Regions from separate parts of the Homo sapiens genome. Here regions 1, 3 and 4 are each linked to region 2. The links are contacts of gene promoters, found by promoter capture Hi-C in blood cells and fetal thymus (Javierre and others, 2016). All regions are on one chromosome and are shown on one strand. The core of a region is centred on a gene start or on the middle of the fragment in contact, and the rest is flanking DNA. Distances in the headings are between cores, read along the strand shown.

Region 1 (5,967 bases), core at 2,345-4,844, 270 kb before region 2:
CCAGCCTGGCCAACATGGTGAAACCCCATCTCTACTAAAAATACAAAATTAGCCAGGTGTGGTGGCGCACGCCTGTAATCCCAGCTATTCCGGAGATTGAGGCAGGAGAATCGCTTGAACCTGGGAAGCGGAGGTTGCGGTAAGCTGAGATCCCGCCATTGCACTCCAGCCTGGGAGACGAGAGAAACTCTGTCTCAAAAAAAAAAAAAGTTGGAGAGGGGACTCTAGGAAGCCTGAAAGACCCACTCCCCTGCTGTCCTGGCCTAGGGTACATTTCCCTTTTCTCATATGAAGCAACATCATATCATGGTTAAGAACATGGCCACATTGGCCGGGTGCAGTGGCTCACGCCTTTAATCCCAGCACTTTGGGAGGCCAAGGCAGGCGGATCACAAGGTCAAGAGATTGAAACCATCCTGGCCAAAATGGTGAAACCCTGTCTCTACTAAAAATACAAAAATTACCTGGGCGTGGTGGTGCATGCCTGTAGTCCCAGCTACTCGGGAGGCTGAGGCAGGAGAATCGCTTGAACCCGGGAGGCAGAGGTTGCAGTGAGCCAAGATGGCGCCATTGCACTCCAACCTGGGCGATGGAGCCAGACTGTGTCTCAAAAAAAAAAAAAAAAAAAAAAAAGAGTGTGACCACATTGTCTGGATTCAGAGCTCTGCCACTTGCTAGCTGTGTGACCTTGGACTCATCACCTCACTCTTGGGGCTGCAGTTTTCTCACCTGTAAAATGAGGATGCTAAAGCCTTTTACTTCAGGGTGTGGTTCAGAGCATTAGACAAACTTAGGTAAAGGACTCAGTCTGAGCCTGATACACAGTAAGCACTCAAAGTATTAGTTTTCATCATCATCGTTGTCATCCTTACTTTTCCTTCCTGAGGCCGGATGGTGCTCTACAGTTCAAGATAGGACTTGGGAATAAAGAGCGTAGGATTGATCTCAGCTCTGTGACCTTGCCCAAGTGAGTAACAGCTTTGGTTTCTTCATCTGCGTAGTAAGGACAAGAAAGAGCTTACAGGGCTCGATCATTGGATGTACGTTTGTCGTCTGAGATTTGGGGCGACTGGAAATTCAAGAGATCCCAAGTTCCCTGCTCAGTGCAGCCCCAGCTCCTGATCACACTTGAACGCGAGCTGATGGCGGGCTTGGTTCTAGGGCCTGCCTCGCCTCTGTCATGAAGGCTGCGCGGGGCCCTTCTGTGCCGAGACTGGCGCTTGCTCCCCACAAGCCCGTCTGCTGCTCCCTCCGCTGCGAGCCCTCCCAGGTCTGATCCGCCTGTCCCCAGTACCCCGGCATGCGGCACTTTTCCTTCTTCTCTTGTGAAAGGCAGATCTGGAAGAAGCTTCTGGGGAAATGCTGTGTTTGTGTCTGGTTATATCTATTCCCCAGACGGTGATTCTTAAACCTGGCTGTGGGTTGGCATCACCTGGGGAATCTTGGTAACAGTTGGGATTCTCTGGCTTCACTCCTGGAGCATCTGCTCCCGCAGGTGGAGAGGAAGATCATCTGCTGGTTTGGCCGCCCTACAACCATTCACCATTCTTTTGGGGTTTTCCTGTTGGGAACTGCTCTTCCTCCATCCCGTCCGTTCACTTACTGAGACCGCTGTGTGCAATTTATTATTTACCCCAGGCACTGGGGATATGGCAGGGAATCTGGAATATGCCCTTGAAACTGGAATTGTGTCTGTCCGTTAGATCACAGTACCGTAAGGCTGTCACTTTCTGATTTTTATAATTGTACTGTGATCCAGAGATTCTTCTTAGGAAATACCCACATCTTGAGGGGTTACAAACAAGAGCAAATTAACTGGAAAAGGGAAGCAAACCAGTGTTGGCTGAACAAACATGAAAATGACTACAATGTTTATCTTCAGTTTTGGGAGAATTGTCATGAAGACTCAACCACAGTGTCATCCTTTGTACAGAATAGGATTCTAATCAGGAGACCAGTGCTCATGTGCACAGCTTTGAGTGTGAAGATCTAAAAATTTTAGTTGGTAGGATGATTACAGATTATTTTCATCTTCCTCTTTACAGATTATTTTCATCTTCCTCTTTAAACTTTTGTATATTTTTCACATTTTCTAGAAGGAAGTTTTAGAAACAGAAGTGGGAAAAAAAACAACTTAAAAAAAGCCCCGGGCCAGGCGCAGCGGCTCACACCTGTAATCCCAGCACTTTGGGAGGCTGAGGTGGGCGGATCACGAGGTCAGGAAATAGAGACTATCCTGGCCAACACAGTGAAACCCCGTCTCTACTAAAATGCAAAAAATTAGCCGGGCATGGTGGCGGGCGCCTGTAGTCCCAGCTACTCGGGAGGCTGAGGCAGGGGAATCACTTGAACCCAGGAGGCGGAGGCTGCAGTGAGCCGAGATCACACCACTGCACTCCAGCCTGGCGACAGAGCAAGACTGTCTCAAAAAAAAAAAAAAAAAAAAAAAGCCCCACTGTTGTGGAATGTCCTGGTCTACCTGGTTTGGACTTAGAAATGCCTTAGGAGTAGCCTGGGCAGTTCAGGTCATTCCTTATCTTCCTGCCATAGGGATTGGTTCAAGGAAGGGAGGAGGTGAGTCAGTCCAATCAGAATTAAGACAGGTCTTTCTCTGGAGCTCCCAGGAAAGAAGAGGAGCTTTCTTCCTATGGAGGTGCCAAGTTGTAGAGTGTAAGCTTAATGCTGCTGGGGGCCTGGGGACCATCTTTGCTCAGAGGGTCGAGTGGAAAGGAGATGGAAATAATTCATTACAGACAAATTCTTTGGGTAACTGAACTTCTCAGTAATGGGAGCCAAAACATTGGCCCTTTTTCCCCTCAAGTCAGTTTGAATTGGGTCTCTGCCACTTGCAACCGAAAGAGTCCTAAGTAATACAGTAATTTTAGTGGACCCTAGAATCTATATTTAAATTTAAAAAATTCTCTGCCAGGCGCAGTGGCTCATGCCTGTAATCCTAGCACTTTGGGATGCCGAGGTGGGTAGATCACTTGAGGCCAGGAGTTCAAAACCAGCCTGGCCAACATGGTGAAACCCTGTCTTTACTAAAAATGCAAAAACTAGCCAGGTGTGGTGGCAGGCACCTGTAATCCCAGCTACTCAGGGGGCTGAGGCAGGAGAATTCCTTGAACCCGGGTGGTGAAGGTTGCAGTGAGCCAAGATCGTGCCATTGCACTCCAGCCTGAGGAACAGAGTGAGACTCTGTCTCAAAAATAAAATAAAATATAAAAATAAATAAATAATTCTCCAGAAATGATTTGTATGAATCAGATATTTGAGAACCACTTTGCTAGACTTTCCTGAGTGGCGGTTCTTAGCTTTATGTGATCAACAGACTGGCCTGGGGAACTTGTTAAAATACAGCAGCTCTGTTCCACATTGCTGGAGATTCTGGTTTGGGGCCTGAGGCCTGGGTATCTGCATTTTGAACACCATCCTGGGTGATTGCATACACTTCAGAGTGTGTGTATGCACAGAGGATTCTTGGCCGGGCACGGTGGCTCACGCCTGTAATCCCAGCACTTTGGGAGGCCGAGGTGGGTGGATTACAAGGTCGGGAGATCCTGGCTAACATGGTGAAACTCCGTCTGTACTAAAAATACAAAAACAATTAGCCAGGCGTGGTGGCGGAGGCCTGTAGTCCCAGCTACTCAGGAGGCTGAGGCAGGAGAATGGCGTGAACCCGCATTCTCAGCTTACAATCCTATCCATAGAGGGGGCCCAGGATCCTTCTCAAATGAATGAAAGTAGAGTTTAAGTCTGCAGTTTTTTTCCTCTTTGGAAAAAAACATTCCTTTCCTGCCCATGACCCAGCCTTGCACACTGGCCGCTAAACCTGGCGTATCGCATCATGTTTCAGGAGGAATTTGGTCAGATCTGTGCACTTTATTAGGATAATGGTTGACCCAGTGTGTACCTCCCCAGGTAACTTTGGAAAGAGCTGGATAGAGTTCATGACCAATTCGGAACAAAGTCTGCTCTTAGGAGGAATTTTGCTAATAGTGGGAAATATTCAAGAGGGTAATCACTGACTTAGTTCAAGGTAATTTAAGGTGAATGCATTCCTCATGTGTGTGTGTGTGTATGTGTGTGCATGCGTGCCAAACTTACTTGAGGTGAAGGAGGGGCGAAAGCCCTTTTACTCGAATGAAAGGAAATCTTTTGAATTGACCTATCGGTTCAGAAAATCCCTTTTCAAATCTTCCCTTGAGCAGCTTTGCTTTTGAGGCCCCTGAAAGCTGGGAAAGAAGGGGCTGTGAGGCCTGACTGACTCCTCGCTGCTGGCTGTACCCCCAGGCACGTGTGATTTTGCCATTGTCTGAAATCTTGCTTTCCCCAGAATTTGTGCCCCATGCTGAGTTCCTACAGCTCAGCCACCAGGAATTAGGGCATGGGTTAGCCAGGATTATTCAAATTTAATCTGATCATCGTTAAACATTTTTGCTTGCATCCTCCCCAAAAGAATTTTGATAAGCCCCTGTATACCTCCTTGTACACTGTAAAGCTAACATCTAAAATAAGCTTATGGTAACTTTAAATTTGTCTTATTTGTGGGAGAAGAAAATAGTACACATTTTGAAGGTCGAATGTAATTGAAATATTTTATGATGTGGTTAGATAAAAAAAAGTTTTTACTACCTTATTGAGTAAAGTACACAGAAGCTGAAAGCAATCATGTAAATTTTTCCCTGGGAATTTTTTCTTGGTGGATCTAGAAAAATTCAGTGGTCCTGAAAAATGTTCCCTTTGAACAAATCAGAGCCACTAACCTATACTGCTTTGACATTCATGATCCTACTATGGTTCAGAAAATCCTATTTTTAAAGCCCAGTTTCATGTTTGGCAGAAAGATACTTAAGTCAGGGAAAGACAGGCAAGTCTGGGGGTTTAAGTAGCTTTTTATTGTTCACTAAAGGCTACTTCCCCGAAACCAATATTGATGTTGTGTGTTTGGAGTCCTGGAGGTTTACACACCTCTCGGTCGTGCTCCTTGGGAAAATGGGGGAGTGCACAACAGCGGGTGGGCAGTGGGGAAGGAGACAGGCTGGTTTGCAGCCAGATCAGTTTTAGGAAGAGGAACTTGTGGATGTTGAGGATCTGAACATTGCTTCCCTTGAAAACACTGTTTTCAAGATACTCCTGTATCTGTTAAGTTTCCGTAAACCCCTAGTGATAAGCACATCCAAGCGTGAAGCCTCTCGGCTTTAAGAACCAGGCGGTTTCATATGGAGTGGGAAGTCCAGAGGTGATTAGGTTACAGAAGTTGTCACCACCACCGCCTGTATGTGTGTATATATACACACGTGCCATAAAAGTCACCCATTCAGAATATGCAATTCAGGCTGGGCGCAGTGGCTTATGCCTGTAATCCCAGTACTTTGGGAGGCCAAGGCAGGCAGATCTCTTGAGGCCAGGAGTTCGAGACCAGCAAGGACAACATGGTGAAACCCTGTCTCTACTAAAAATACAAAAATTAGCCAGGCATTGTGGTGCATGCCTGTAGTCCCAGGTACTTGGGTAGCTGAAGCACGAGGATTGCTTGAACACAGGAGGCGGGGGTTGCAGTGAGCCGGGATCACACCACTGCACTCCAGCCTGGGTGACAGAGTGAGATGCTGTCTCTCAAAAAAAAAAAAAAAAAAAAAGGCCAGGCATGGTGGCTCACACCTGTAATCCTAGCACTTTGGCAGGCCGAGGTGGGTAGATCACCTGAGGTCGAGAGTTTGAGACCAGCCTGACCAACATGGAGAAACCCCGTCTCTACTAAAAATACAAAATTAGCCAGGTGTGTTGGCACATGCCTGTAATCCCCGCTACTCAGGAGGCTGAGGCAGGAGAATCGCTTGAACCTAGGAGGCGGAGGTTGCCGTGAGCCAAGATCGCACCATTGCATTCCAGCCTGGGCAACAAGAGCAAAACTCTGTCTCAAAAAAAAAAAAAAAGAGTATGCAATTCAGCTGTTTTTGGTAA
Region 2 (6,417 bases), core at 1-2,500:
TATCCCTACCTGAACACATGCAGACACACAACACAAATCACACACAGTCACACGGGATTCACACACAAAGAGAGACAAATCCCAATACTCACAAAGGAGAAACAGACAAACCTCACACACGTGCACACATAAATATCTACTGAAAAAGACAAATATCCCAAGTTCCATAGTGTGGAGACAAATCACACAAATAACCATGCACAAAGACACATCACATATCCACAGACACACACCAGAAACACATCACCCACACAAAGACACACAACATGGAAACATCACACCACACACACATACACCCCCTCATGCATCCAAAGACACAAGCATGTCAAAAGACAGGAACTACAGAAACCACTTGCGCCCCTAGGCACTTACCCATGTATCCAAAGACACAACACAAACCACACACACAATATCCAGACACACAACACAAAGAAATCACACAGATTCACACAGGTACACACACACATTTACAAAGATGCACGATGCGCAACCAGTATCTAAAATATCACACATCCACACAGACACACACACATATAAAACACAGAAACAGCCAAATCCACCCATAGTCACACAAAAATTTACACACAAATACACGCAGCCCTACATACCCAAAAACACAGAACACAAGACAAATGACATATAGTTCCAAAGGACACGGACACACACTGGGAGACCCAAATATCCAAAGATATCTAGTGCAGAATAAAAGGAAACAGACACATGTCCACACACCTATCCCCCAAAAATTCTTAAAAAAACCAGAACACAAATAAGTGATACACACACACACTCCACATCCCAAGACAAAGGTAGTGTGGACTTCACTCCAGTTGCCAAGGCCCCCGCACCCCCGGGTCATTTCAGTCTCTCCCAGACCCGAGGGTTGCAGGGAAGGGATGATGTCTCCCTTCCCCAAAAAGAATCTGGAGGCCCCCCACGCCCTCCACCCCGCCAGGGAGCGGTGCATCCGACACCATTCTTGTCAGAGACCCACAGTCACACACTCTCGCACCCCCGCGCAGCCCCGCACTCGGTGACAGCCCCCCAGACACCCCTTCGGCCCCACCCCCGGTCGCCACACACACACAGGCCCGCGTAGACCCGCCCGCGCTTCCTCTCCGCCTCCCGCCGGCCCGCACCACCTCAGGGGGCCAGGGATGACAGTGGCCATCTTGCTCCCCGGGTCCTGCCCCCAGCAGGTCCCCGCCGGGTCGGTCCTCCCAGCGGTCGGGCGGGCGCTGAGGCCGCCCATCCATTCATTCCCGGGGGGCGGGAGCACGAGGGCCACGGCCAATCGCGGCGACGGGGCGGGCCCGCCCGGGCCATGCTGGGAGTGGTAGTCCCAGGCCAGGGGGCCCCCGGGACCCCGCGGGGACGGGACGGCGCGGAGGAGGGGCCCGGGGCACGCACCGTCACTCACCCGCCCTCACTCGTCCACATATCCTGCTCTCGCGTGCACACAACCACATGCACACCTGGACTCGCACACGCCCACGCATGGCAGTTTACACACACATTCACGCGGATACTCACAGCCTCCCACACACTCCTACTCACACACCTTCGCACGGACTCACACAGCCACACGCACACACACTGCAATACTAAGAGACGCAGAGACACCTCCCAGGTGCCCACACAGACTTCTCACCAACATGCTTCCAGCAGACACCCCCTCACCGCCCCCCACCCAAGTCCCTCCTGGCTCCAGAGACCCCACCCGGGGCTGTCTCTCCCAGCAGCCACGCTCACGGTCACCCCGCCCTGCTCAACGCCTTCTGCAGGCCTGACAGCAGCAGTGCAGGTTAGAAACAGTAGTCACACCTCCAGGGTTCAAATCCTAGCTCTGCCACTTGGTGGCCATGTGACCTTGGCAAATGACTTAACCTTTCTGGGCCTCAGTTTCCTCATCTGTAAAAAGAGGATGATGCCTCACTGGAGTGTTGTGAGGATTAAATGAGTAAATATAGGTAAAGCATTTTAAGAGGTGACTGGCAGGCCAGGCGCAGTGGCTCACACCTGTAATCCCGGCACTTTGGGAGGCCCAGGCAGGTGGATCACCTGAGGATGGGAGTTCGAGACCAGCCTGGCCAACATGGTAGTAGTCTCTACTAAAAATACAAAATTAGCCGGGCATGGTGGCGCATGCTTATACTCCCCCACTCAGGAGGCTGAGGCAGGAGAATCACTTGAACTCAGGAGGTGGAGGTTGCAGTGAGCTGAGATCGTGCCATTGCACTCCAGCCTGGGCAACAAGAGTGAGACTCCCTCTCAAAAATAAATAAATAAATAATAAGAAAGAAAGAATAATGCGGCCAGGTGCGATGGCTCCAGTCTGCAATCCCAGTACTTCGGGAGGCCTAGATGAGAGCACTGCTTGAGCCCAGGAGTTTGAGACCAACCTGGGCAACATATCCAGACCCCTGTGTCTACAAAAAAAAATTAAAATTAGCTGGGCATGATGGCGCAGCAGTGTAGTCCCAGCTACTTGCAAGGCTAAAGTGGGAGGATAGCTTGAACCTGGGAGGCTGAGGCTGCAGTGAGCTGTGGTCTCACCACTGCACTCCAGCCTGGGTGGCAGAGCGAGACTCTGTCTCTAAAAGCAAACAAACAAACAAACAAACAAACAAAAAACTAAGTAAGCAGGGCGCCGTGACTCATGCCTGTAATCCCAGCAATCTGGGAGGCTGAGATGAGAGGACCGCTTGAGCTCAGGAGAACAGCCTGGGCAACATAGCGAGACCTGGTCTCTACTAAAAAAAAAATAAATAGCTGGGCATGGTGGCACATGCCTATGGTCCCAGCTACTCAGGAGGCTGAGTCAGGAGGATTGGTTGAACCCAGGAGATCGAAGCTGCAGTGAGCTATGATCACACCACTACACTCCAGCCTGGACAACTGAGCAAGACCCTGTCTCCAAAAAAAAAAAAAAAAATAGATGCTCAGTAGATATTTGTTGAATGAGTAAATGCACCCATCATGTGCTGGGCACAGTTCACCCCGGGATGCTTTTATTATCTGCATTTTCCAGGTGAGGAATCTGAGGCACAGGAAGGTAACCTCACATGCCCGCATGCCCTGGCGGCTCTTTGAAGGTAAGACTGAAGGAAGGAGGCAGGCACCCCTGACGGCCCTCCCCAAGTAGTCCTGACCTCCTTCTCTCTCCCACTGTCACCCACACTGACTCCACCCGAAGAGATCCCCAGGGAGTGAGCAGACCCACTGAGTCACAAACTGACCCAGTCTCTCTGCAACACCACCACCCCGTCCCCCCTCCCGTCTCACCCCTCCTCCCCCTTTCCCCTTCCCACCCCTTCTCCCCCTTTCCCCTTCCCCTCTTCCACCCGGACCCCTGTAGAGCCAGCATTCAAATTTGGGCGGCTGCTGTAATTAACACGCCCACAAACGCCCTCATCCACCAGGGGGCGCCCCAGCCGACAGAAGTGGCCCGCTAGCCTTCACCATTTTTGTCACTTGAAATCCCCCCAAGAGAGAGATCCAGTCAAGGCCTCCTACACTCACGGTCACTTCTACACACACACACACACACACACACACACACACACACTCCTCTAGTCTTAGACCCTTTCCACAAACTCGCCCATCTAAGCCAGGTAAGGTCTTGGCCGGCCCCTCTCCTGGAACAGGAGGTAGGTCTCTGATTCACATATGGCCTGGAGTGGTGACAAGGGGATTAAGTGAGGGGCACTGACACCCCTACGATCACTCTGGCCTCCAGGGCCCTATAGTGGCCACCTCACACCTTACCCACGGTGAGCTGTGACCCCACCTTCCTCTCTCACCTCCCATTAGCTCACAGGTCCCGTAACACACCCTCTTACACTTGATTCCCACACCGCTAGCCTCAGACACGCAGACTCACTCCTGCCCCACCCCAAACTCTCATGTCGATTTGATTAAGAGAAGCCCGAGTGTAGACACTGAGTGCAGACCTTCCTAACAGTCCTCCTCTACCAGCAGAATTTCTATTTTTCTTTCTTTTCTTTTCTTCTTTTATTTCTCTTCCTTCCTTCCTTCCTTCCTTCCTTCCTTCCTTCCTTCCTTTCTTTCTTTCTTTCTTTTCTTCTCTTTCTTTCCTCTTTCTCTTTTTCTCTTTTTTTTTTTTGGACAGCGTCTCACTCGATGGCCCAGGCTGGAGTGCCATGGCATGAACACAGCTCGCTGCAGCCTCCACCTCCCAGGCTCAAGCGATCCTCCCACCTCAAACCCCCAAGTAGCTGGGACTACAGGCCTGTGCCACCGCACCCGGCTAATTTTTGTATTTTTGTAAAAACAGGGTGTCCCTGTGTTGGCCAGGCTAGTCTCAAACTCCTAAGCTCAAGTGATCTGCCCACCCTGCCCTCCCAAAGTGCTGAGATTACAGGCATAAGCCACCATGCCCGGCCCACCAGCAGGATATCTACCCACAGACGCAGGCTGACACTTGCAGCGGGCTCTCCTTTCTTTCCTTCTGCCCTAACCACCTGCACACACCACTCCCACATACTCTCCTACACACTTGAACTCCCAGTCCTCTCCCTGGCCCAAACAATCCTCCTGCCCCATCCCCCAATGCCCTGTGTGGGAGCTGGCCCACAGTAGAAATCAATTTCATAAATCAATATTGATACTACTAATAATAATCACTACATTTGGTCAGTGTCAGTCTCTGTGCTAACTGCTTTACAAAGATGGCCTTAGCCCCACGACAGTCCCATCGGGTGGTAAGGGCTGTTAGAAGCCCCCATACACAGATGGCAAAACTGAGGCTCACGGCAGGGAACATTCGTGGCTCAAGCTGGTTTTGGAACTCAGGCAGTCGGAACTTCCGAGGGCGGCACCCTGCAGCTCCTTCTCCCCAGGGGATTTGACTCACATTCTTTCAGGAGCCAGGGAGTCCCCACCTTCACCCCCACAGAGACCTTTTGGAAGGGAAGGGCACAGAGGGGTAGGGCCCTCCCAGTCCAGGCTTACTGTAGCTGGGCCCCTGCTCACGGCTGTAGCACACCTCCTCCCAGGGGTCTGGGCCAGGGTCAGGGTGAGGGGCCCCATCGCCTGTAGATCCACCAACCTGCACAAGAGCCCCGTTCCCAGCCATTTTGCGGATGTCCCCTCACAGGAGAGACAGCTGTCTGTGTGTGCCACTTAGGGTGAGAGGGCAGCAGAGGGGTGTCACCATCATACACCACCTCACACGGACCCGAGCCCCACACACCCGCTCCCGGCACCCTGCTCACGGCGAAGCCACACGTGTAGGCGCTTGCCTCTAAGTCCCTGCCCCCCTTCCTCTCCCAACTCCCACCCTCCACCTCCCACCCCCATTCCCGCCAGAAACCAGAAGCAACTGGCGGCCTCTGGTCCAGCCAGCAGGCGCATCCCTTCTCGTGGGTGGGGTAGGGGGGCGCTCCCTCTCTCCCTCTCTCCCCCCACCCCCCACCCCCGCCCCCAGCCCTCGATGTTCAAGGTCAAGGCAGCCAGCGCACGGGGTTGGGGGAAGGGTGGGGGAGGTCGCCCCGGCCCCTTTGTGCGACGCCGCGGGCGCTCGCCCTCCGCCTCCTCCACCAGGCCCGGGAGGAGGGGGAGGGGAGCGCCTCGCTCGCCTGCGGGGAGGGAGGGCGGGAGCGGCCGAGTGCCTGTCACTTGGAGCCCGCTGTCACCGCCTGGGAACGGGGGGTGGGGAGCGCTGGGACGTGGAGTCCGGGATCCCGAAGAGGAAGCAAGAGCGAGATGGAGAGGGGGAAGGGGAGGTGTGGAGAGCGCGAGGGATGGCAAGGAGAGGAGAGGGTCAGGAGGGGCCAGGCTCGGACCCAGGCTTCCGGATTCCCAGCCACCGGGCCCGGGAAGAGGCGAACGCTCGGAGGACCGCGGCCAGGGAGAAAGGGAGGGAATCCCCGGAGACCGAGGGCGCTCCCGGCACCCCCTCCTGGGCAGCCGGTCCCCAAAGGGATCAGAGATGCTCCCGTTTGATGTGTATGCGCGGGGAGAGGGAGGGATGCCGCGGTCCAGACTGACGGCGGGTTCGGGGCTTCCAGTTCCCGGGATCCCGGGAGGAAAAAGGGGAGGCAGCGGGGATGGAACTGGGGACCCCCGACGTCTCAGCTCCCACCCTGCGGCCGCGAGGGCCGGGGTCCTCAGAGAAAGAAGGGGAAAGAGAGAAAGGCGCTTTGATGAGCGGAGAGCGGGTGATGGAAACCCTGGAGACCGAGGTCCGGACTTAGGTGTTCGAGCTTTCAGCCCCGGCCGGGGCAGGCCCGGCACCTCCGGAGACCCTGAGGGAGAGATGGAGGAGAGGGAAACCCCTACCCCCACTCTGGGTGGGGAAACGGCCTCCGCCACCCCCAGCCCGCGCCGCATTCCTTCACTGACAGCGACAAAGAAGAGGCGCCCCCGCGACCCTGGAGGGGCTCCCGCCCCCAA
Region 3 (5,919 bases), core at 613-3,112, 340 kb before region 2:
TCGTTTTTCAGAAAAATCCCACTCTTTGATATCCAGCTTACTCTGTTCTATACTCAACCTGCGCTCCTTAACAAAGAGTGCCCTCTTCATCTTTGTCATTTTTATTTCTTCCTGTGTTAGTTTCCTTTCATCCCTGGTTAGTTTTTGAAGTGCCTTTAAGATTTTGTTCAGTTTTGCTGGTTCCTTGGAAAGGCTCTCCCTTTTTTTAATCAACTTCCTTGAAGCCTTGGCTAACTTTCTTTGCCCCTGGACAAATATTCTCTGTCCTCTAGTAAATTCCAGTTTTCCTTTGGCAATTTCGCTTTCCTCCATGGCCAATATCCTGTCTTCATGTAGCAGTATCTTCTCCTCTAGTGACAATTTTCTCTCAAATAGTTCTTGTTCAACTTGAGTCATTTTCCTTTGTCTAGAAGTTTCTGGAGTCTCTCCCTTAGACAGTGTTTCTTTTCCCTCAACCAGTCTCATCTTCTCCTCAGCCAGTCTTTTCATTTCCAGGTTCAATGCCTTTTCTTCCTTAGCAATATCCAACTCTCCTCTGAGCCGTTTCTTTCCTTGGACCATTGCCTTCTCCAGAGCTAATTTCATTTTTTCCTGGGCCAATTTCTCCTGTTTTTTGGCCAAACTATCCTCTACTTGGACCAATTTTTTCTCTGTTTCAGCCAGTTTCTCCTTCTTCTTGATCACAGTCTCCTTTTCCTGTGTCAGCTTCTCCTCTACCTGAGCCAGTATCTTGTTGAACATTCCCAATTTGTTCTTTACTTGCACTAATTGCTTTTTGCTGTGGGTGAGTCTTTCTTTATTATAGAGTAGGTTCTCTTTCCTCTGAGCCAATTTTTCCTTCTCCTGGGCCAGATTCTTCTTTTCCTGAGCCAGATTCTTCTTCTGGTACAGTATCATCTTGTTCTTTGTGAGTTCTTCCATGCTGTTGATCCATCTTTCCCTTTTTTGGGCCAGTTTCATCTTCTTCTCAATCAATTGCTCCCTTTTCCGTCCCAGTCTTTCCTCTTCCTCAGGCATTTTTTCCTTGTGCTGGGCCAGTTTCTCCTTTTCCTGGATCAGCAACTCTTCTTCCTGGGCCAGTTTTGTCTCTTCTTCAGACAGTTTCTCCCTTTGCCAGGCCAATGCCTCCTCTTCCTCAGCCAGTTTCTTCTTTTCCTCAACCAGTTTCCCCTCTTCCTGATTCAGTTCCTCTTCTTTCCAAGACAGTTCTTCCATGTCCCATTCCAGTTCCTCCAATTCCTGGGCCAGCTCCTTTTCTTGCCAGTCCAGATTTTGTTCCCTCTGGGGCAGTTCTTCCACTTTCTGGGCCAATATGTTTTTCACCTCAGCCAGTTTCCCTCCTTTCTTTGCTAGTTTCTCTTCTTCTCTAGCCACTTTCTCCCATTTCTTGGCCAGTTTCTTCCTTTTCTGGGCCAATTTCTCCGCCTCCTGGCTTAGCTTCTCCCCTCTTTGGGCCAGTGTTTCCTCTTTCTGGGCAAACTTACCCTCTGCCTGGGCCATTTCCCTGTCATCCTGGGTTATTTTCACGTATGCCTGGGCCAGTTTTCTCTCTTCCTGGGCCAACTGTCTCTCTTCTTGTGCAAGTTTCTCTTCTTCTTGTGCTAATTTCCTCTCTTCTTGGGCTCGTTTTTTTTCAGCTCGGGCTCGTTTCCTGTGTATTCTGGCCCATTTGTGTTCTTCTTGGATGTGTCTCTGCTCTTCTGTGACCTGCTGTTCTTTTTCTTCCCCCTCCCGAGACACTTCTTCCTCCAAAGTCACTTCTTCCTCATCCTTGTACTGTTGCTCCTTGGACTTAGATGATAACATATTTTCCCAGACTTGTTTCCACTCCTCCCATTTCAGCTTCTTGTCCTCCTGAAGCATTTCCTCCTCCGGGGATAGCTTCTCTCCAGCCTGATGTAGTTTCTCCTCTTCCTGAAGAAGCCTCTTCTCCCATTCTTCCTTCCATGCCTTCCAGGATTTCCTTGTCTCACCATGGACCTGTTTCCACTCATCCCAGGCCTTTTTCCAGTCCTGCCAAGATGGTGTCCTCTCAATCATAACCAGTTTTCCTTCTTGTTTGACCACTTTCTCCTCTAGTGTGGCCATTTCCTCCACTTCCTCACTCATATCCCTCTCTTCTTTGGTCATTTCCCTCTTTATTTTTCCTACTTTTCTTTCCTTCTGGACAGCTTTCCTCCCTTGCTTAGGTGACTTCTGAAAGGTTTTCTTCTCTTCTTTCTTTGATATTTCTTTTCCCATGGTTACATTACCTGGTTCTAAAAAAATAACTTTCTTGCCCTTTTTCAAAATCACTTGGGTTTCCTCCAAGCCCAGCATGTCTCTTGCTTTCTTTTGTGCTTGTTCTTCTTCCCTTGGCATCACTTCCTTGTGTCTGATCACCTCTTGGGTCACACCTTGTATCATGTCCTCTCTAATTGCTCCTTCCTGGATAAAAATTGGTTTCTTCTCTGGCGGGACTACATCCCAATCAAGGTCCTCAAGCAGAACCTTACTTTCTTTCTTCAATAGGGGGCAGATCTCCTGAAAGAGTTCCCAGCTGGGGTGCCTATCTACCAGCATCTCCTGAGCAAATGTCACTAGCTCAGCGTTTAGGTTTTCTGACATTTTTGTTTGGGAACCAGATATCCTCAGGGCCATAAGACGACATAGATCGTCCCTCCATGATGAGCCATCTCCAGCGGTTGACCTGCGGCCAGATATTCCAGAGGCTCCCCGCCCTTGGATTTTAACCTTTTTAGTAACTGGCTGTTCCATTACAGGAGGTGTAGTTTCCTCATTTATAACTTTGGCTTCTTTTCCCTTCTTTTTGTGCTTCTTTTTGAGTTTCTGAGCTGTTGCTTTCTTGTCTCTTTTGTCACGTATTTTCTGCAGCCTCTTCAGGGTCAATGCAATGTGATCCTTCGAGATATCTTTCTCTTGAGAATCAACATCTTTTGAGAGCTTTATTACACTGGTGCTTGAAGACCATTGGGAATAGACGGATGCTTCCTCCATCTCAATTGGTGCGGCCTCAGTCCCACTTTCATCCTCTAAGAGGCCTGGCTCTGTGCTCATCTGTTTAGAGTCTCTCTCTTTCGTCTTCTTGAGACCCCGCAACCATTTTTGGCCTGCAGTAAAAATCGAGAGATGGAGGTAAGCAAAGTATGGGAAGCGACATGAAACCCTTCCCAATATTAGGTGTGAGCTAAGAAGAACTGTCATATAAGAAGTAACAACAGAGAGAACTGAGGCCTTAAAAAAAAAAAGCATTCTCTTTGCTTTATTCCTAGCCCCCTACTCCTGCCAAATCCTAGAGAGCTAGGCCTTAGAGTCTTCCTGAGTTTGAGTGGATCCTTCCTTAGAAAGTCTTTTTTTTTCATTGCTTTCATAAAAATCAATTTTACTGAGGTATAATTTAAACAGGATATACCCATTTTAAGCAAACAGTTTGATGAGTTTGAAAAATGTATACACTTTTGTAATTACTGCAATCACAATCAGGATATAAGGCATTTCTATTATCCCCCTAAATTCCCTCCTATATAGTGTCCCAGTCAACATCTATCTACCCTTAACCTCTGGCCCTAGGCAACCACTGATCTGCTTTCTGTGACTGTAGATTCATTTGCCTTTTTTAGGATTCCAAATAAATAGAATCATTAAAAAATGTGCTCTTTTGTGTTTGCTTTCTTTCAATAGTTTTTGAGATTCTTCCATGTTGTTGCATGTATCACTCTTTTTTATCACAGTAGTATTTCAGTTTATGAATACACTATAATTTCCTTATCTATACATTTTTTTAAAAAATTATACTTTAAGTTCTGGGATACATGTGCAAAACGTGCAGGTTTGTTACATAGGTATACAGGTGCCATGGTGGTTTGCTGCACCCATCAACCCAGCATCATCTACATTAGGTATTTCTCCTAATGCTAGCCCTCCCTTAGTCCCTCACCCGAGAGTGTCTTTTCTATGATGAGATCTTTCCACTTATCTCTCTTCCCACCTGGTATCTCTCTTTTTTTTTTTTTTTGAGATGGAGTTTCGCTCTGTCACCCAGGCTGGAGTGCAGTGGCACCATCTCTGCTCATTGCAACCTCCACCTCCTGGGTTCAAGTGATTCTCCCACCTCAGCCTCCCAAATAGCTGGGATTACAGGCACCCACCATCATGCCTGGCTAATTTTTGTATTTTTAGTAGAGACGGGGTTTCACCATGTTGGCCGGGCTGGTCTCGAGCTCCTGACCTCAAGTGATCTGCCCACCTCAGCGTCCCAGTGCTGGAATTACAGGCATGAGCCATCATGTCCCGCCAGCCCACCTAGTATCTCTTGATCCACTTTAACCCTAACTACCCTGCCTCTTGGGGACCCTGAGGCACAGACCAGATTACCCCTTACATACTATGCTTTTTGACCCCTGCTTGGCCTCGTCTTTGGCCTTTGCTGGGCTTGATGGCCACTTCAGATTCTTCAGAAACTGTAGGAGGTTTCAGGGAGGATTTAAGTTCAGAAGGCATTGAGACATCTAAAGAAAAAGCCGGCTTTTCATCTCTATGTGACAGGGTCAGGTTTTCATTCAATCTCTGCTCCACTTGAGTGGAAAGGATTTGGAGATCTGTGGCCCGCATCCCCAGTAGATGGTCCAGGGGTTCCTCCCCGATCATCTGCTGCCTATGAAAGTCAAAGGAGAAGAAGGACTATGCTGAGTCAGGAACAAAAGGGAGAATGGGAAGCAAAAAACGGTTGTGGAACAGGCAGGAGGCTTGGCAAAGTGGCCAAGAGAGATGGCATATGCAGAGGAAAATAATGGCTGAGACAAAAGAAACTATCTAGGAAGCCAAGGTGGCAATGAATGGAGTGATCTGTATTGGAGGCTGTAGAAGCAGGAGAAAAGGATGAAAATGGAACTTGAAGAAGTAGCGGACACATAGGAAAAGCAATGGAGAAAGGAGTGAGCAGGCCAGGTATGGTGGCTCATGCCTGTACTCCTAGCACTTTGGGAAGCCAAGGTGGCAGGAAGATTTCTTGAGCCCAGGAGTTCGAGACCAGCCTGGGCAATATAGTGAGACTCTGTCTCTACAAACAATTAGCCAGTGTGGTGGTGCATGCTTGTAGCCCCAGCTACTCAGAAGGCTACGGCAGGAGGATTGCTTGAGCCTGGGAAGCAGAGGTTGTAGTGAGCCAAGATCGCGCCACTACACTCCAGCCTGGGCAACAGAGTAAGACCCTGTCTCAAAAAAAGAAGGAAGAGGAGGAGGAAGAGGAGTGAACAGTCGGGATTGTCAAGGATAGTCATCTAGGCGTGAGCAAAGGCTATGAGAAAGAAGAAACATCAGGGAGAATTAATGAACAGGGATGAAGAAATAGCAAAGGAAAGGAGGGGGAAAATGGCGAATGGGGTGAAGAATTGAAGGAAGCACAAACTTACTGCATCTCCCGAAAAGTCTCTTGTTTTTGGGTCAGCTGTAAGAGTGAGGTCCTAGAGTGGATTCCAATCTCAGCCATGAGGCTTAGGGTCTTGATCCTCACTCTTTCATCCTTGTCCATTAATCCTTGAGCCAGAGGCATGGCAAAAAGATGAGTAATCATTCCTAGACGCTTCAGCCCTTCCCAAGCTAGTTCTCGGATCAGCGGGTTGGAATTGGTTGTATCATTCAGTAGCCGACGGGCTGTCTCAGAGCGTAGGGCTGGGGACACCTGGTAAGAGGCAAAGATTTGCCCTAGTGCACCAACACAGCACTGGTACTTCAGCAAGGAAGCATGGACCATAATATTGAGCATTGTCTCAATCATGCTATTAATGGTTATTTCACTCATCTTTCTTCCCAGCCAACTTCGGTTTGCTCCATCTGTAAGGACACTGTAGGTTACATCCTTGGAAAGTCTCATTTCTAGGAAGTGTTCATCCTCCTCCTTATTCTTTGGATATTCTGTAT
Region 4 (6,166 bases), core at 1,573-4,072, 360 kb before region 2:
CTCACTCTGTCACTCAGGCTGGAGTGCAGTGGCATGATCACAGTTCACTGCAGCCTCCAACTCCTGGGCTCAGGTGATCCTCCCACCCCAGCCTCCTGAGTAGCTGGGACCACAAACATGTACCACCACGCCAAGCTAGTTTTGTATTTTTTTTTTTTTTGTAGAGATGGGTTTTGCCATGTTGCCCAGGCTAGTCTTGAACTCTTGGACTCAAGCAATCCACCTGCCTCAGCCTCCCAAAGTGCTGGGATTAGAGGTGTGAACCACTGCACCCAGGCCCCTCTGAAATTTTAAATTCAAGCTTCCCACTTCAAAAAATTTTTTTGAAACAGTTTGTTTCCCAGGCTGGAGTACGGTGGCACAATCACTGCTCACTGCGGCCTGGACCTCCGGGCTCAGGCAGTCTTGCCTCAGCTTCCCAAATAGCTGGGACTACAGGCACGTGCCACCACGCCCCGCTAATGTTTGTATTTTTGGTAGAGATGGAGCTTTGCTGTGGCCCAAGCTGATACTGAACGCCTGGGCTCAAGCAATCTGCCTGCCCCGGCCTCCCAAAGTGCTGCAAGCTTGTGGGGAAAAGCAAGAGAGATCAGATTGTTACTGTGTCTGTGTAGAAAGAAGTAGACATAGGAGACTCCATTTTGTTATGTACTAAGAAAAATTCTTCTGCCTTGAGATTCTGTTAATCTATGACCTTACCCCCAACCCCGTGCTCTCTGAAACATGTGCTGTGTCAACTCAGAGTTGAATGGATTAAGGGCGGTGCAGGATGTGCTTTGTTAAACAGATGCTTGAAGGCAGCATGCTCCTTAAGAGTCATCACCACTCCCTAATCTCAAGTACCCAGGGACACAAAAACTGCGGAAGGCCGCAGGGACCTCTGCCTAGGAAAGCCAGGTATTGTCCAAGGTTTCTCCCCATGTGATAGTCTGAAATATGGCCTCGTGGGAAGGGAAAGACCTGACCATCCCCCAGCCCGACACCCGTAAAGGGTCTGTGCTGAGGAGGATTAGTAAAAGAGGAAGGAATGCCTCTTGCAGTTGAGACAAGAGGAAGGCATCTGTCTCCTGCCTGTCCCTGGGCAATGGAATGTCTCGGTATAAAACCCGATTGTATGCTCCATCTACTGAGATAGGGAAAAACCGCCTTAGGGCTGGAGGTGGGACCTGCGGGCAGCAATACTGCTTTGTAAAGCACTGAGATGTTTATGTGTATGCATATCTAAAAGCACAGCACTTAATCCTTTACATTGTCTATGATGCCAAGACCTTTGTTCACGTGTTTGTCTGCTGACCCTCTCCCCACAATTGTCTTGTGACCCTGACACATCCCCCTCTTTGAGAAACACCCACAGATGATCAATAAATACTAAGGGAACTCAGAGGCTGGCGGGATCCTCCATATGCTGAACGCTGGTTCCCCGGGTCCCCTTATTTCTTTCTCTATACTTTGTCTCTGTGTCTTTTTCTTTTCCAAATCTCTCGTCCCACCTTACGAGAAACACCCACAGGTGTGTAGGGGCAACCCACCCCTACACAAGCTTCCAACTTTTTGACCATAACCACAAGCGACCCTTCTGTCACAGCCTCCCAAGTAGATGAGACTACAGGCACATGCTACCACACCTTTCTAACTAAGGTCTCTCCTTATCCAAGTCTAAACTTGTTTTGAATTGACAACATTCACTGCTCTTGCACTTTGCAGGCTTCCTACACTCCTGGAGAATATTGTACTCCTTGGAGATCATTGCCCTACAAAAATCAAGTTTCTTCTTACTCCCTTCACACTCCCAGATAGTAACTTTTTACTTCACTCTAAAAATAGAATGTGGGTCAGATCCAGTGGCTCACACCTGTAATCACTAGCACTTTGGGTGGCTGAGGCAGGAGGATTGCTTGAGGCCAGGGGTTTGAGACCAGCCTGGTAAACATGGCGAGACCCTGTCTCTATAAAAATAGAAAAACATAGCCGAGCATGGTGGTGCACGCTTGTAGTCCCAGCTACTCGGGAAGCTGACGTGGAAGGATCACAGGAGTTCAAGGCTGTAATGAGCTATGATCACGGCACTGCACTCCAGTCTGGGTGATAGAGCAAGACCCTGACAAGAAACAAAAGAAAAGAAAAGAAAGAAGGAAGGAAGGGAGGGAGGGAGGGAAAGGGCGAAGGGAGAAGGGAGGAAGGAAGGAAGGAAAGAAGGAAGGAAGCAAAGAGAGAGAGACAGAAAGAAAGAAAGAAAAAGAAAAAAGAAAGAAAAAGGAAAGAAAAAGAAGGAGTGGCTTGGGAAAAAATAGAATGTATTAGTTGGGAACTTGCTTAACTTGTGACAACTAAAATGAGTGATTGAGGCATAAGTCTCAAATCATGGAGGTTTATTGAGCCATCTTGAGAATCAGTAAACATGAGTCACAGAAACATCTGTGGCTGTTTGGAGAATCTCCAAAGAGCCTACAAAGAGGTTCTCAGGAGGTTTAGTGTTTATACGTTTTCCTTAAAGGCGGAGGTGGGGGAGGCCCACAGTAAGACAAATGATTACATAATTGTGAGACTTTAGTTAGTGCCCAGTAAATCTACCTTTTACATAAGACAAGGTGTACATTTGAAGAAAAAGGGAATAGGAAGCATGTCTCAGGAAGGGGTGAAGGAATCAAAAAGGATTACTCTTGTCTTTGTTCTGTACCAGGTAAGATAAGCCAGTAGTCTTTTGAAAGGGCTGGTTTAGGGCCAGGTGCGGTGGCTCATGCCTGTAATCCCAAAAATTTGGGAGGGCAACGTGGGCAGATCACTTGAGCCCAAGAGTCCAAGACCAGCCTGGGCAACATGGCAAAACCCTGTCTCTACTAAAGATACAAAGAAACTAGCCAGGAGGCTGAGGTGGGAAGATCACCTGAGCCAGGGAGGTCAAGGCCACAGTGATCCATGATTGTGCCACTGCCCTTCAACCTGAGCAACAGAGGGAGACCCTGTCTCAAAAAATGGGGGGAAGCAGGGAGTTCTGTTTAGCCCTTAGGGAAGAAAGGCTAATGACTGGTAGCGAAGGAGGGGGTATAACAAGGCCTCTCTGATCTCCCATCTTATTATGGCCATGAACTCAGCTTCCAAGGTTTCTGTGGGGTTCCCTTGGCCAAGATGGGGTCCATTCAGTCCATTGGAGACTAGAATTTTATTTTTATTTCTCATTTGTCACAGCTACAAACTTTCCTATCTTTTCTTATTCCCCCATGAACCCTGAAAATTTGGGACAGGTGTCAATTTAGAAAGTTTATGTTGCCAAGGTTGAGGACACGCGCCCGTGACACAGCCTCAGGAAGTTCTGACGACATGCGCCCAAGGTGTTGAGGCACAGATTGGTTTTATACATTTTAGGGAGATGAAACATCAATTAATATATGTAAGAAGTACACTGGTTCTGGCTGGGCGCGGTGGCTCATGCCTGTAATCCCAGCACTTTGGGAGGCTAAGGCGGGTGTATCACCTGAGGTCAGGAGTTCAAGACCAGCCTGGCCAAGATGGTGAAACCCCGTCTCTACTAAAAATACAAAAATTAGCCAGGTGCGGTGGCGGGCGTCTGTAATCTACTCGGGAGGCTAAGGCAGGAGAATCGCTTGAACCTGGGAGGTGGAGGTTGCAGTGAGCCAAGATGGCACCACGGCACTCCAGCCTGGGTGACAGAGTGAGACTCTGTCTCAAAAAAAAAAAAAAAAAAAGTACATTGGTTCCCTCCAGAAAGACGGGAACAACTCAAGCAGGGAGGGGACTTCCAGGTCACAGGTAGGTGAGAGACAAATGGCATTCTTTTGAGTTTCTGATACGCCTTTTTAAAGGAGGCAATCAGAATATGCATCTATCTCAGTAAGCAAAGGGATGACTTTGAATAGAATGGGAGGCAGGTTTGCCCTGAGGAGTTCCCAGCTTGAATTTTCCCTTTAGCTTAGTGATTTTGGGGGCCCAAGATTTTTTCCTTTCACACCCCTCACTACGCTGGAAAGGTACATCCCTGTCCCCTTGTCTAAAGCTAATTCTTCCACCTGGAGTCTGGACCCCATTCTCTCTTGCTTTATCAGGGACCTGGCTTATCCCAGTATTCCCCTGTTCATCCTACGCCTTCAAGCTTACCATCTCCATGATTTGGCCACGTCAGCATGACAAACATGACAGAGCAGGAGTATCACCACCTTGGCCAAGCACTGTCGTTTTAAGTTTACCTTGATTAAAAACTGCCTAAATCCAAAGGGCATCAGCCTAATGGCTAAGGTCAGCATGACCATAAACCACAAATAACATCTCCGACCAGACACATTCCAGACTCCTCCCTGACCAGAGACATGCCAGCCCCAAGATAACCTCCCTGCCAGCTGGAGAGATGTCAGCCCCAAGATAACCTTCCCTCCAACTAGAGACATTCCAACCCCACCATAAACTTCTCCCCGACACAGAAACATTCCAAGCTCTCTCACCAATAAACACTTAGTCTGTAATAGAGCACGCTCCTGACTGAAATCAGCCAGAAGCCCCTCTCAGGTTTATTGCTCCAAAATAAACCTGTCTTGACTGTTGAGTGCTTTTCATGTTTCTTCCCTCTCTCTTTATTTAACTCTTTGTAGAGTTAAGGAAAGTGCTTTAACTTTCTTTGCTTAAGTGCTTAAGTATCTCCTGTTGACAAAAAGAGTCAAACTCTGTAAAATATTTGCAGAGATTTATTCTGAGCCAGATACAGTGACCATGGCCAGTGTTACAGCCTCAGGAGGTCCTGACAACATGCACCCAAGGTGCCCGGGCTGCAGCTTGATTTTATACATTTTAGGGAGACATAAGGCATCAATCAATACATACAAGATGTAGATTGGTTTGATTTGGGAAGACTGGACAACTGGAAGTGGGGTGTGTCCAGGTCATAGGTGGATTCAAAATTTTCTAAATGGCAGTTGGTTGACTTTATCTAGGCTGGGCATGGTGGCTCACGCCTGTAATCCCAGCACTTTGGAAGGCCGAGGTGGGTGAATCACCTGAGGTCAGGAGTTCGAGACCAGCCTGACCAGTATGGTGAAACCCAGTCTCTACTAAAAATACAAACATTAGCTGGGTGTGGTGGTAAGCACCTATAACCCCAGCTACTTGGGAGGCTGAGGCTAGAGAATTGCTTGAACCTGGGAGGTGGAGGTTGTAGTGAGCCGAGATTGCACCACTGCACTCCAGCCTGGGTGATAGAGGGAGACTCTATCTCAAAAAAAAAAAAAAAAAAAAAAAAAAAAAAGACCTGGAATCAATAGAAGGAGTGTCTGGGTTAAGATAAGGGGTTGTGGAGACCAAGGTTCTTACTATGCAGATGAAGTGTCCAGGTAGCAGGTTTCAGAGGTAATAGATTATACATGTTTATTATGAGACTTAGAAAGGTGCCAGACTCTTAGTTAATTCTCTCATTCTCTCCTGGATCAGGAAAAAGACCTGAAAAGGGAAGGGGATTCTCTACAAATGTTGATTTTCCCCACAAGAGTCAGCTTTGCAGGGCCATTTCAAAATGTGTCAAAGAAATATATTTTGGAACAAAATACTTCCATTTCTTTCAGGGCCTCCTATCTGTCATGTTGGTATCTTATTGCTACAAAAAGTATGTTTTCTCAGTCTTAAGGTCTCTGTTTCACTGTTCATGCTGGTCGGCTGTGCCTGAATTCCAAAGGGAAGAAGGTATAATGAGACATGTCCAACCACCCATTCCCATCATTGCCGGAACTAGTGTTTCAGGTTTACCTTAGAATGCCCTTGGCCAAGAGGAGGGGTCCATTCAGTTGTTTGGGGTGCTTAGAGTTTTATTTTTGGTTTCCACTCCCATATTGAAATCTTCTCACCTGGCCGGGCATGGTGCCTCACACCTATAATTCCAACACTTTGGGAGGCTGAGGTGGGCAGATCACCTGAGGTCAGGAGTTTGAGACTAGTCTGACCAACATGGTAAAATCCCGTCTCTACTAAAAATACAAAAATTAGCCTGGCATGGTGGTGCATGCCTGTAATCCCAGTTACTTGGTAGGCTGAGGCAGGAGAATTGCTTGAACCTGGGAGGTGGAGGTTGCAGTGAGCCAAGATCACACCACTGGACTCCAGCCTGGGTGACAGAGTGAGAGTCCATCTCAAAAAAAAAAAAAAAAAAATTCTCCCCACCTGACCTTAT

The links. The method cuts DNA at HindIII sites, captures the fragments that hold promoters and counts their contacts. A CHiCAGO score of 5 or more calls a contact.
Region 1: a contact is called between a fragment that was not itself captured here and the fragment with the promoter of DPF1 in region 2, in 2 of 17 cell types (total CD8 T cells and M2 macrophages). The highest score is 6.4, in total CD8 T cells.
Region 3: a fragment that was not itself captured here is called in contact with the fragment with the promoter of DPF1 in region 2 in 13 of 17 cell types (M2 macrophages, M1 macrophages, naive CD4 T cells and 10 more); the score reaches 13.8 in M2 macrophages.
Region 4: a contact is called between a fragment that was not itself captured here and the fragment with the promoter of DPF1 in region 2, in 2 of 17 cell types (total CD4 T cells and non-activated CD4 T cells). The highest score is 6.2, in total CD4 T cells.

The regions. Positions count from the first base shown.
Region 1 is chr19:37,949,468-37,955,434 of GRCh38, forward strand. All of the region lies in intron 1 of SIPA1L3 (signal induced proliferation associated 1 like 3), which reads left to right. Among named protein-coding and RNA genes, the nearest start is that of SIPA1L3, 45 kb to the left of the region's middle. The HindIII fragment of the contact is 1,843 bases long and covers 2,674-4,516 here.
Region 2 is chr19:38,222,972-38,229,388 of GRCh38, forward strand. It overlaps DPF1 (double PHD fingers 1), which reads right to left and starts at 1,251. Exons shown (of 12, transcript NM_001135155.3): 1 at 1,143-1,251. The coding sequence starts at 1,171. RefSeq lists a silencer at 1,016-1,585 and an enhancer at 4,508-5,278. The HindIII fragment of the contact is 14,724 bases long and covers 1-6,417 here.
Region 3 is chr19:37,887,167-37,893,085 of GRCh38, forward strand. It overlaps WDR87 (WD repeat domain 87), which reads right to left. Exons shown (of 6, transcript NM_001291088.2): 4 at 5,412-5,919; 5 at 4,386-4,654; 6 at 1-3,110. The region is part of intron 4 of LOC105372395 (a long non-coding RNA gene); the gene reads left to right. Among named protein-coding and RNA genes, the nearest start is that of WDR87, 16 kb to the right of the region's middle. The HindIII fragment of the contact is 9,115 bases long and covers 1-5,919 here.
Region 4 is chr19:37,865,609-37,871,774 of GRCh38, forward strand. All of the region lies in intron 2 of LOC105372395 (a long non-coding RNA gene), which reads left to right. Among named protein-coding and RNA genes, the nearest start is that of WDR87, 38 kb to the right of the region's middle. The HindIII fragment of the contact is 2,568 bases long and covers 1,539-4,106 here.